2 separate regions of the Homo sapiens genome follow, and region 2 is linked to region 1. The links are contacts of gene promoters, found by promoter capture Hi-C in blood cells and fetal thymus (Javierre and others, 2016). All regions are on one chromosome and are shown on one strand. Each heading gives the region's core, a stretch centred on a gene start or on the middle of the fragment in contact. The rest is flanking DNA. Distances are from core to core; before and after follow the strand shown.

Region 1 (5,667 bases), core at 1,788-4,287:
TTTAATAAATGGTGCTGGGAAAACTGGCTAGCCATGTGTAGAAAGCTGAAACTGGATCCCTTCCTTACACCTTATACAAAAATTAATTCAAGATGGATTAAAGACTTAAACGTTAGACCTAAAACCATAAAAACCCTAGAAGAAAACCTAGGCATTACCATTCAGGACATAAGCAGGGGCAAGGACTTCATGTCTAAAACACCAAAAGCAATGGCAACAAAAGCTAAAATTGACAAATGAGATCTAATTAAACTAAAGAGCTTCTGCACAGCAAAAGAAACTACCATCAGGGTGAACAGGCAACCTACAAAACGGGAGAAAATTTTCCCAACCTACTCATCTGACAAAGGGCCAATATCCAGAATCTACAATGAACTCAAACAAATTTACAAGAAAAAAACAAACAGCCCCATCAAAAAGTGGGCAAAGGATATGAAAAGACACTTCTCAAAAGAAGACATTTATGCAGCCAAAAGACACATGAAAAAATGCTCATCATCACTGGCCATCAGAGAAATGCAAATCAAAACCACAATGAGATACCATCTCACACCAGTTAGAATGGCAATCATTAAAAAGTCAAGAAACAACAGGCGCTGGAGAGGATGTGGAGAAATAGGAACACTTTTACACTGTTGGTGGGAATGTAAACTAGTTCAACCATTGTGGAAGTCAGTGTGGTGATTCCTCAGGGATCTAGAACTAGAAATACCATTTGACCCAGCCATCTCATTACTGGGTATATACCCAAAGGACTACAAATCATGCTGCTATAAAGACACATGCACATGTATGTTTACTGCGGCACTATTCACAATAGCAAACACTTGGAACCAACCCAAATGTCCGACAATGATAGACTGGATTAAGAAAATGTGACACATATACACCATGGAATACTATGCAGCCATAAAAAATGATGAGTTCATGTCCTTTGTAGGGACATGGATGAAATTGGAAATCATCATTCTCAGTAAACTATTGCAAGGACAAAAAACCAAACACCGCATGTTCTCACTCATAGATGGCAATTGAACAATGAGAACACATGGACACAGGAAGGGGAACATCACACTCTGGGGCCTGTTGTGGGATGGGGGGAGGGGGGAGGGATAGCATTAGGAGATATACCTAATGCTAAATGGCGAGTTAATGGGTGCAGCACACCAGCATGGCACATGTATATGTATGTAACTAACCTGCACATTGTGCACATGTACCCTAAAACTTAAAGTATAATAATAATAAAAAAATAAAAAATAAAAAAATAAACATTTGCTGTGTTAAGCCACTGAGATTTGGGCTAGTCATCTGTGATTAGCCCACCTGCTTGATGCAAACTGACTTTCAGTGGTGTTAGTTGATCATAATTCTTAAAAACAATTTTTGTGTAGAAAATTCATGTCCTTGAAAATAAATCCACAAAATTAAAATGTCTCCATTTCTTCTGACAACATTTTTTTTGTACTTCTTGGCTCTAAGTGTATAACATTTGGTAGTAGCTCTAGCAGTTGCTGTAATTTACCATATAATTAAATGTTCACTTAATCTCTTTTTATATGAGGAATTCTTTTAGTCTTTAATAATTTTATGTTATTCTTCAGTCTCTCAATTCAACAAATACAACTAGAGAGAACTGGTAAAATCAATAAATCCCATCTACTAATTAAAAGAGAACATAAGAGAATCAGTAGGTAATGAAACACTGTAAGAGTGCTAACCGTGGAAAGAGACAAATTTTTAAACATACCAATAAGCTCTCTCTTTTCATCCTCCATTTCTTAAGAAAATTCTTGCACAGAAGTGCTTTGGTTTGCTGATACACGCTTTTCTGTTTCATATTCATTTAGCCTATTCGCTGAAGGAGAAAGTAATCATGGTGGAACACAACCTAGAAAAAAATAAGTGTAATAAGAAAAACCTTGATCATAGTGTTGAGGAAAATATTTACTACCTTTAAAAAGTGTAAACATGAATTTAAAATATTATTTCAATAATTTATGACTGTAAAATTTCACCTCAAATATTTCACCTTAAGCTTTTTAGGGGAGTGGGTGATGGTGGGAAGGCAGAGTGATTATTATCACAATTTTGCAATAACTTGGAGTACTGAAATGGAAAAGCTGTAATTCAACTTCAGAACCTATAATTTCACATTTTTGGCCTTGTATGAGAGAACTTTAAGTACATGAATAGAGTGATTAAATTAATTTCATCCTGTTAATAGCCATTTCTTGTTCTTTACATTGAAACAGAAATCTCAGAGCTAATCAAATTAACATCAAAAGTCTGATTACTTAAATTTGTCTGAATAATAAATTACATCCACTAGATACAACCTCAATAAAGTGTTTTCTTGTAATTTTACCTTCAGATTGAATCAACTTTTATGAAAAGAGATAGGTTGTAAATCATAATCCAGGCTCAAACTACTTGAAACTTGATTCTGAGATACAGGAAGAATAAAGCAATTTCTCTCAATTTTCTGAATTCAGAAGTCCCTGAATAACTAATGAAACTACAAAATTAGCTTTAAAAGAAGCAAAAATAAATCACACGGGAAAGTAATTTTGCCCAAAGATTTGCAAATCAAGAAACACAATTTTTTTCGTTTCTGTAACCTCAAAATGAAATTCTTTCATATTTTTACATCAAAATATTCAGATAATTCTCCCTCAGCTAGCACAGAAGCAAATTTTTTCCATTTTTCTATGTCTTACTGTTACAATCTACACAATAAAAAGTGGTTGGGAAAAAGCAGAAAAATTTAGTCTTAGGTCTTTAACATAAAACACATAAGAATTGGGAAACATCTGAAAAATAGATTGATTTTAGCAGTGTCCACCCACATATTTGGCACAGCACAACAAAATAGAGCTTTACTTACTGTCAGGAAAATAATAAAAAGCACTCTAGAAACACTGTCAAAACCAGTTCTCTGTTTGTCTAGGTAACGATTACAACTTCTTTATTGCTGCTTCTTCATTTTTTCTTTAAATGGGTGCCTACTCCAGCAGCTCTTACACAGCCTGGTTTCTGAAAAGGGGTGTAGCCAGACCAAGCTGTACATGATGAACTTGTTTTGTTTTCTGTGTCTCTTTCTCCCTAAGCCAATTATTCTGCAAGGAAATGACTGTTCCGTGGTTGGTTGGGAATAAAATAAACTCTGTGTTTGTTCACTTAGCCTTTCAACTACAGGGATAAGGGGGAAAACGGTAAACAAGGAAAATGGAACTAGTTCTTCAGAAATGATGAGACCAAGATGGAGGCAGGAACAAGAAAGAGTAAAAACAATAACTAACCAAACAAAGCAGTTAAATTTGTATAAGAAATCTGTATCTATTTTCTTTTCACTACTGATGAATAAACACAACTGCCAGTTAGTTGTATATTTAACTAATTCAGACTAAGTTAGCAGAGTATTCTGGAGCTGATTTTTTTTCCTAATAAAGCTAAGCAATCCATAGTACGCCTTGGAGAAACTCCTAGGACAGACAAATGAAGAATTTTTAACAAATTTGTTGCTCCCACCCTCTTCACAGTGGATACAGGATTTCATAATACTTATGAACAAAATAAGCCAGTGGTTTGCCCAGGTCTACAAAACATATAAAAAGATTCAGATAAATTTTTGTGCACGAAGACTACAACAAACTGAAACATGTTTAATTCATATAGCATAGTCTGTCTCTCTCTGCTCTGTAAAGAGTTGCAAACTTTTCTTGACCTGCCACAGTGAATGGCAAAACAGGAAATCAAAGTCCATGAATTGGGAAATCTCAAATATTTGACACGGCTCCCAATCCACAGATGTTAATAATCATAAAGCTGAGAAACTTTCTGGAGCAAAGCAGATAATTTAAACAACAATGACAACTACAGCCATGATACTATTATGTGTATATGTGTGTGCCTGTGTGTATATATATAAAATGTATATATATATAATGTATACATATGTGTATATATATAATGTGTGTGTGTGTGTGTGTGTGTGTATATATATATATATAAAATTTCTCTCCTTGGCAATTACTTCTGTTTTTAAAAATAGTCAACAGTGAAATGCCACTTTTTTTACATTGAAAATTGGCACAAACACCGTTAATAAAGGTGTTCTAAAGTTCTCATGGGGTGTGGGAAGGGAGGTCATAAACACTTAACATTTTGTAATAGTAATATAACAAAACTCAAAGTTACTTTTAAACCACCTGGAATACAGTTAAGGCTTTTATGAATTTTTTTGTTGTTATCATTGTTTTAGACCCTTTATACTTTATTTTAGGAATCATTTTCATTCTGCCATTCTTATAATTGTATTAAAATTCACAGCTACAATATCAATGATAATTATTTAGATTAAATATATTTATTAGTTTCATTTCTTACCATTGTTTCTTGTGTATGCTTTCTTTTCCTTTTTCTTGACCTGTTTCCTCTTACTTATTTTCATTTTGGGAGGCTGTTTTCCTTACGTAATGTGACAATTTCCCCACAAATGGTGATCTAATATACTAAAGTGCCCAGCCTCCAGCTAGAAGGGCATGGAAGTGGTGGGTAAAATATATCCCCAAATTGAATTTCCAATATATAGTCAAATTCAAAAAAGGAAGAAAAAAGATGAAGAATGTAAACAACAATGGAAGAAACAAAAAAAGACAGAAAGACATGTTTCCAGGTGTTAAAACTGAAAAGGAATTTAAAGTTTCCCTTAAGTTGTGAGTGGCATTTCAGACACTCCATCAGTTCAAGGATATACTGGACTGAAAACCAAGCCTCAGGTGTTTTAATGACCCTCTGGCCTGAACTTGGTCCTTGAAAGGTTGGTAAGCTGGAGTTCATATTCCTGCAGGAATCCAGAGGGTTTATAGGACTGTCCGGTGCTAAAAACAGACTAGGAAAATTTCACCTACAACCTCAGGGGAGAGCAAAGCTGTATTCTCTGCCCAATTTCTGGAAGACAGACAGACAGATAGTAGATAGATAGATAGATAGATAGATAGATAGATAGATAGATAGATAGATAGATCGCCCATAGAAAATGAAACCACAAAGTATGTAGAGCATGTATCAGGTACAAGAGACAGGAGAAGGATCTGAATTTATTCTCCCAGTATAATAACCTGTCCAGAGATGTATTACAGGAGTTAGTGTAAACACTCTGGAGCCAAACTTGTGTCCAAATTCTGGCTCTGCCATGTACTAGCTGTGTGACCTTGCACAATCCATTTAACTCTCACGCCCTCAGGTTTTTTACCCCCCAAAAGTGGAAAAACAACAGTATTAATATATATATAAGGTTATTGTAGGGGTTAAATTCATCTATGTAAGTACATAGAAAAATGAGGGAAAATTGTAAAAGCTCAAAAAATGTTATTTGCTGTTACTTCCCCTCCTCCTCCTCCTCCTTCCTCCTCTTCCTCCCTCCTCCTCTTACTATCCTGGAGTGTCACAGAGAAAACACAAAAATTCCATAAAGATACATCCAAATTTCAGAACACAAAGCAACAGAGGTAAAAGAAATATTCCTCCCAGAAGATAAACTCATAATCAAAAGTCTAACATGAAAACAAATCAGTAGGACAAACAAATGAGACTATTAGAAAACTTAAGAACTAAGGGGGAAATTATTGTGAGCTAAGCAAGCTCTCTCAAATGTGACTAATA
Region 2 (5,667 bases), core at 1,914-4,413, 240 kb before region 1:
TTTTTAACGCATTGACTTAAAAAGAAAACCTATGGCAACTCTGATACTTACAGTGCTAAAAGAGCTTTTCTTTCATGCTTTAACTTTAACAAGCGAACCCTTGCAATTGCGCAGATTTGCTGTCGCCAGAGAGCCACACCACCTATTGTCTTTCTCATCTTGTTAAGTGAAGAGAGGACTTGTTCCATCTCAACAAGCCTTTCAGTGTCGTCAGCTTTTTCCGCTTGTACTTCTCCCAAAATAGCAATGTCTGCAAAACATAAAATAAGCAACTCATATGTACTTTATTGAGCTTACTATAGAGATTGGCTCTGCTAAGCATCTCATGATTAGACTCTTCCGCGTTACTATAGGTATAACGTGGTTTTGCTGGTTACTGCCTTAAAATACAGAAATAGAAGAAATATTTATTTCTTGAACAAAAGGGATAGAAAGGAGACCTTAGGTAATTTGGATACAGACAATACATTACAGAGGTCAAGATAAATAGGCAAGGTCATCACAGTGGTTAGAAATGACATGGAAAGTCAGTAAAGGAAACAAATATCTTACATGTTCAATGAAGCTACAAATTGACATGCTCTGAACAGGGAGTAAACTGTAAATGGCAAGCTACAAACTGGGAGTTAGCTATAAATTGTTACTGCAGAGATTTCAAAACTATTCAGTTTTGAATAGTTTCTGAGACTGCATTCATTTGTGTGTTCTCTATAATCTCTGGATACCCAGGATGCTGTCCATTGTATAATGCTAAAATAAGCCTAATATCAAACCTCAAAAAGCACACACCCGTAAATGTATAAGTACAGTGACAGGACACAAAACACACTGTGAATGAAGATATAAGGATCTTAAGATAGTGGTCAAAAGTCCATTAAAAAAATTAGCCGGGCGTGGTGGTGGGCACCTGTAGTCGCAGCTACTCGGGAAGCTGAGGCAGGAGAATGGCGTGAACCCGGGAGGCAGAGCTTGCAGTGAGCCGAGATCGTGCCACTGCACTCCAGCCTGGGTGACAGAGCGAGACTCCATCTCAAAAAAAAGAAATAATAATAATAATAATAATAATAATAATAATAATAATAATAATAATAATTCAGGGATATTCTGCTTCTCGTTAGTTGCAAGAGACTGTCAACCTGTCTTACCAAGGGAATAAATATTAGTTATTTTTAATCCATCAGATGGGCGAGAGCACAAAGAAAGCTAAAAAACTAACATGTATAAAGGAAGGAAACATTTCTAGGGGGAGAAGATTCCTGTGGAAGCTTTCATCTTTAGGGACATGGCAGAAAAAGGAAAAAGGAGAAAACCACCATAGGTAGGTGAAAAGAAAGCAGCCCAGATTTAAAAATTCTGTGATTATATGTGGGCTGATATAACTGACTAGAATCATGGGGTACCTAAGTCACAAAACGAGTTTACAGCATCTACGAACTTTTTTTCGTGGAGCCTTTCCTAAGTGCATAGGAACAGTACAGCAGTAGCTGGGGGCAGATACTCAGAAAAACGGAGAGAGAAACACAAGAAGCTGCATAGTGTCTTGAGCAAGACATCATCAGGGTTCATGGGTCTTTCCTTTTGTGTAATACATGAGTCCACTAGGGTCCAGTCACTGAATGAGGAGTGGAGAGATGTATACTAACAAATAAATAAACAAAAAGTGATGACAGGCTGAAAATCAGTGAGATTAATCATTATTGAGATATTTGATAGCAGGGCTATAGAGAAATATATAGAATTTTTCCAGTGCTATAATTCAAAGTCACGTCTAAGGGAAAGACCTGATTCTACCTTTAAAACATTCGAAGCTGGGAGTGGACTGAATCTAATAAAACCTGTGCAAAAGCCCAGGCACTTGCCAAATACAAATTAGATCAGTTCTGCCATCCACATCAGTAGTCTGACAGAGGAAGAGTCATGCCATTTTCTGGCCATTGTTTACCTCAGTGTTCCTGTTTTGTTAAAGTAACATCCATGATAAAATACAAATTTCAAGACATATGAAGAAGCGGGGAAATATAACCCATAGGGAAGAGGAAAAAAAATCAGAGTCAGTTACTGATAACGGTCATCAGTCACACGGTCCACATGTTAGAATTAAAATACACAAGTTTAAAAATAACTATGATAAATATGTTACAAGATCTACTGGAAAATATGGACAATATTGAGAGCAGATGAGAAATAGTAAAGAACTGAAACTCTAAAAAAGAACAAATGAAAATGTTAGAATGAAAAAGTGCAGTATCAGAAATAGAGAGTTTATTATGTTCGGCTTCAAAACAGTCTGAACACAAGAGAATAAGTTATTTGTGACCTTGAAAATAGGTGGATAGATAGTGTCCAATTTCTAACATAAAGAAAAAAAAAAGAAAAACCTGACACCAGAGAATCTGATATCTGTGGAACAGTACAATATGTCTAATTAAGACTCTCTTCTTTATTGCTGGCCTACAGGAATTTAATAGTTTCATTTTAAAGTATTGTTTGGGGTTCTTAAGTGTTTTAGATCTGTGGGTTCATGTTTTATATTAATTTATGATTTAGAATAAATGTTTTATCTGAAATTGCCCTTAGAAGCCTAGAGCTAATATGAGTGCAGTGAGCCTTGGATGTAGAAAAATGGATTATTTTTAACTACAAAGCAATGTTGACAGGGATGCGTTTCATTTTTACACAAGCTTGTCTAAGAAGAGCCTTAATCATGAACCCCACATTTTGTAATCACATCTTTGGAACAGTGTGTTCTTGAAATATGTGCTTTTACATAATAATTTTCATGCATTTTATTTACCCGATTCATTAATTGTAGATTTTCCTTCTAGCTTCAGGAATACTTCATTCAAAGTTGTCATGGAAACACCATAATTCTCAATTCCTAGGTCAGGATAGCTATCAAGATCCTTGTAAAGTTCTAAAGAATACATATACAGCAGTGAATTAAAACAAGAATCACAAGTGAACTGAAGACAATTTTTCAAACTAATAAGCACAAATCTATGAAACTATACTTGTGATATGTCAAAAACATTTGAAAATTAACATTTCATAATAGATCATCTTATTCTGCAAATTCTATATATTATTTTCTATTTTACATCATGTGTTACAACCCAAATATTACTTTGTCAAACATTAATTTATATTCATTTGCATTTCTATTAAAGTTTAATCTTAGTTTTTTCTGACTTCCTTTTAAAATTTAATTAATTGTGAGACTCTGGGTTTTTCAACTCTAAGCCTAATTAATTGAAAAGTCTTTTCTAGAGAACAGATATAAATGGGAGCCATTTATGTTCTAACTGACAAAAGGAAAGGAATTAATTTTTTGAGAATTAATTGGATGGTGTAGAATCTTCTGTAGTTTAGAAAATATTTGTTAAAGAGAAGACATAGAATATAAACCATTAAAAAATTTTCTGTTTCTAACAATGGAAGAAAAAATTCACAAGACCTAACAGGCAGAGAATGTGGAACTGAATCAGGGAATTTTCCTGGAATTGTGACAGTGATTATTCGCTCTAGCAATTTTATATCTATTCATTCTTTAGTTCGTTCACCAAAATATACTTACGCATCTGTCATTGTTCATGAAGCAGTGAACAGTGCCCCTGCCTGCATGGATTTGAATTACAGTGGTTAAATCAAGCTTAAATAAAAACCTAATTCTAATACTAGGGTGATTACAGAAGTCCTGAGGCTTCCATCTGGAGCTCCTGCTTGGGCAAAAGGATAGGTTAAAAGCTTTTTGTCTTGACTAGAATACCTCATACAGAAAGGTAGAAAAGAAGTAAGATTTAAGCTAATAATGAGTATTATGCATCATTCTTCATTCCACCTAAAACGTCTACAAATTTTCTTTAAATTATAATTACTGTTAAAAAGTACTAATCAGAATTTGCGTAACACTTTCCTGATGATTCTAAGGAATGCTTGTGTTGTCACCATAAAATGTGTATTTGAATGAATGTATATGTCTTTGTTAACCACATATACAGCAAGGTTAATTGTTTCAACCACTAATGTGGGCCCTTATAGTGCCCCATTGTTAAGGAACAAGTTCCCTGAACAACAAACATAGTTAGTAAACTTTTATGCGTTAGCCTGAAAAACCCAAAGTTATTGCAAAAGTCTCACCGAGACAGATAGCCACATCACAGGGCTGTTTAATGTAGTGCATAAGCCAGAGGTTTTCAACCATTTGGGTTTGTGTACATTTATGAATACTAGAATATTATGTTACACACTACTAGGGAAGAAGGACTAAAAGAAGCCCTCTAAAATGCCCAGGCATTACAATACAACTATTAGAATGTAATTCTATTTCCCACTATACAGAAAATAATTCAGTTATTGTACTATTCTTTTGATTATGTTTCAGTACCTGAGCATACTGTAAGACATTGATAAATGTTAGTTGTAATGATAATAATTATGATGATGATGACTATTATTCACATATTTTATTTCACAGTGTTCATGCACATTACCTGGAAATTTATTTGTTCTTTCTAAGGGTAATGTATAAATAAGTTTTCCTTCGCTTTTGGCTGATAATTTGGCATCAGGGATGTGCTGTTTAACAAGTGATGTTATGTTTTCCTCAACACATATTTCATTTAACTGCAAGCTGGCATTCAGAAAAAAAAAAAAAGACATATGTTACTCGACATAGTCTCCAATAGCAAGAAAATAATTAACTAGTCTCTATAGGACAAAGAAAATCAATTAAAATCTAATGCCAGAAATAGGTCAGACAAACACAAAATAAGAGGACAAAAACCCAAGAAATAAGAGGACAAAAACCCAGCCAAATCATATAAATGTGATGGACAAAAGAAAAGAATGAGCTAATGAGAGTTACTGGTGAGGTTACTCAGGAGTAGTGCCCAGAGAAGTTTCATATTGATTGAAGCTCCTGAAGAGAGGGTGGTCACAGAGTGGAAAATACCAGGGTTGCAGTACAGCAAAGGTCAGGACTATGCAAAATGGATAACGTTGCAGTTGAAGGTTCAGTTTTAAGCTGACTAAATAGAATTGTTGTATCGCTTCAAAGGAACAAGAGACTTGTGAGAAGTATAGATGCCAAACAGTTTCAGTTACTCAATGTAGTCATCCAATGCAAATTTACTAAGTTCTTAGTATGTGACAAACATCATACTTAGTGTTGAGGATACAATGGTGACTAAAGCAGCATTATTCTGCTCTTATGGAGTTCATTGTCTAGTGCGGGCGTCAGGAAGAAAACATGTAGACAACCAGATGAGTAAAATAATTATCAATAGTAGTAAGTGCTATGAAGGAAACTGGATTATAGATAGAAACTAATAATGGATGAATGTGGTTTGCTTTTCTTGTAATGCTAAGCCCAGAACTTTGAATAAGAACAAAGTATCATTGAGAAAATCAGTCTATCCATTGAAAAATACCACAGCTATTTCTCCATTATAGAGAAACAGACAAACACAATATTCTATTAATTGAGGTTATAAATTATACAGTGGGCAAAATATCAGTAGTGACTTGGCTTTGAAATATTGTTTTAGCATCTGGAACGTGTTATTTAACTTATCTAAACAGTTACTTTATTAGAAAACTGGAATAATGATTCCCAGCCTCTAGGGTTATTCGAACAATGGAATAATAGTGAAGTTTGCACTTGACAAG

The links. Contacts are between HindIII fragments. The CHiCAGO score rates a contact against its expected background, and 5 or more counts as called.
Region 2: a fragment that was not itself captured here is called in contact with the fragment with the promoter of ABCA6 in region 1 in 1 of 17 cell types (megakaryocytes); the score reaches 5.1 in megakaryocytes.

What each region holds. Positions count from the first base shown.
Region 1 is chr17:69,138,858-69,144,524 of GRCh38, forward strand. It overlaps ABCA6 (ATP binding cassette subfamily A member 6), which reads right to left and starts at 3,038. Exons shown (of 39, transcript NM_080284.3): 1 at 2,888-3,038; 2 at 1,751-1,891. The coding sequence starts at 1,846. RefSeq lists a silencer at 2,931-3,225. The HindIII fragment of the contact is 11,176 bases long and covers 2,037-5,667 here.
Region 2 is chr17:68,903,250-68,908,916 of GRCh38, forward strand. It overlaps ABCA8 (ATP binding cassette subfamily A member 8), which reads right to left. Exons shown (of 40, transcript NM_001288985.2): 18 at 4,491-4,630; 19 at 2,795-2,914; 20 at 52-250. Among named protein-coding and RNA genes, the nearest start is that of ABCA8, 49 kb to the right of the region's middle. The HindIII fragment of the contact is 968 bases long and covers 2,680-3,647 here.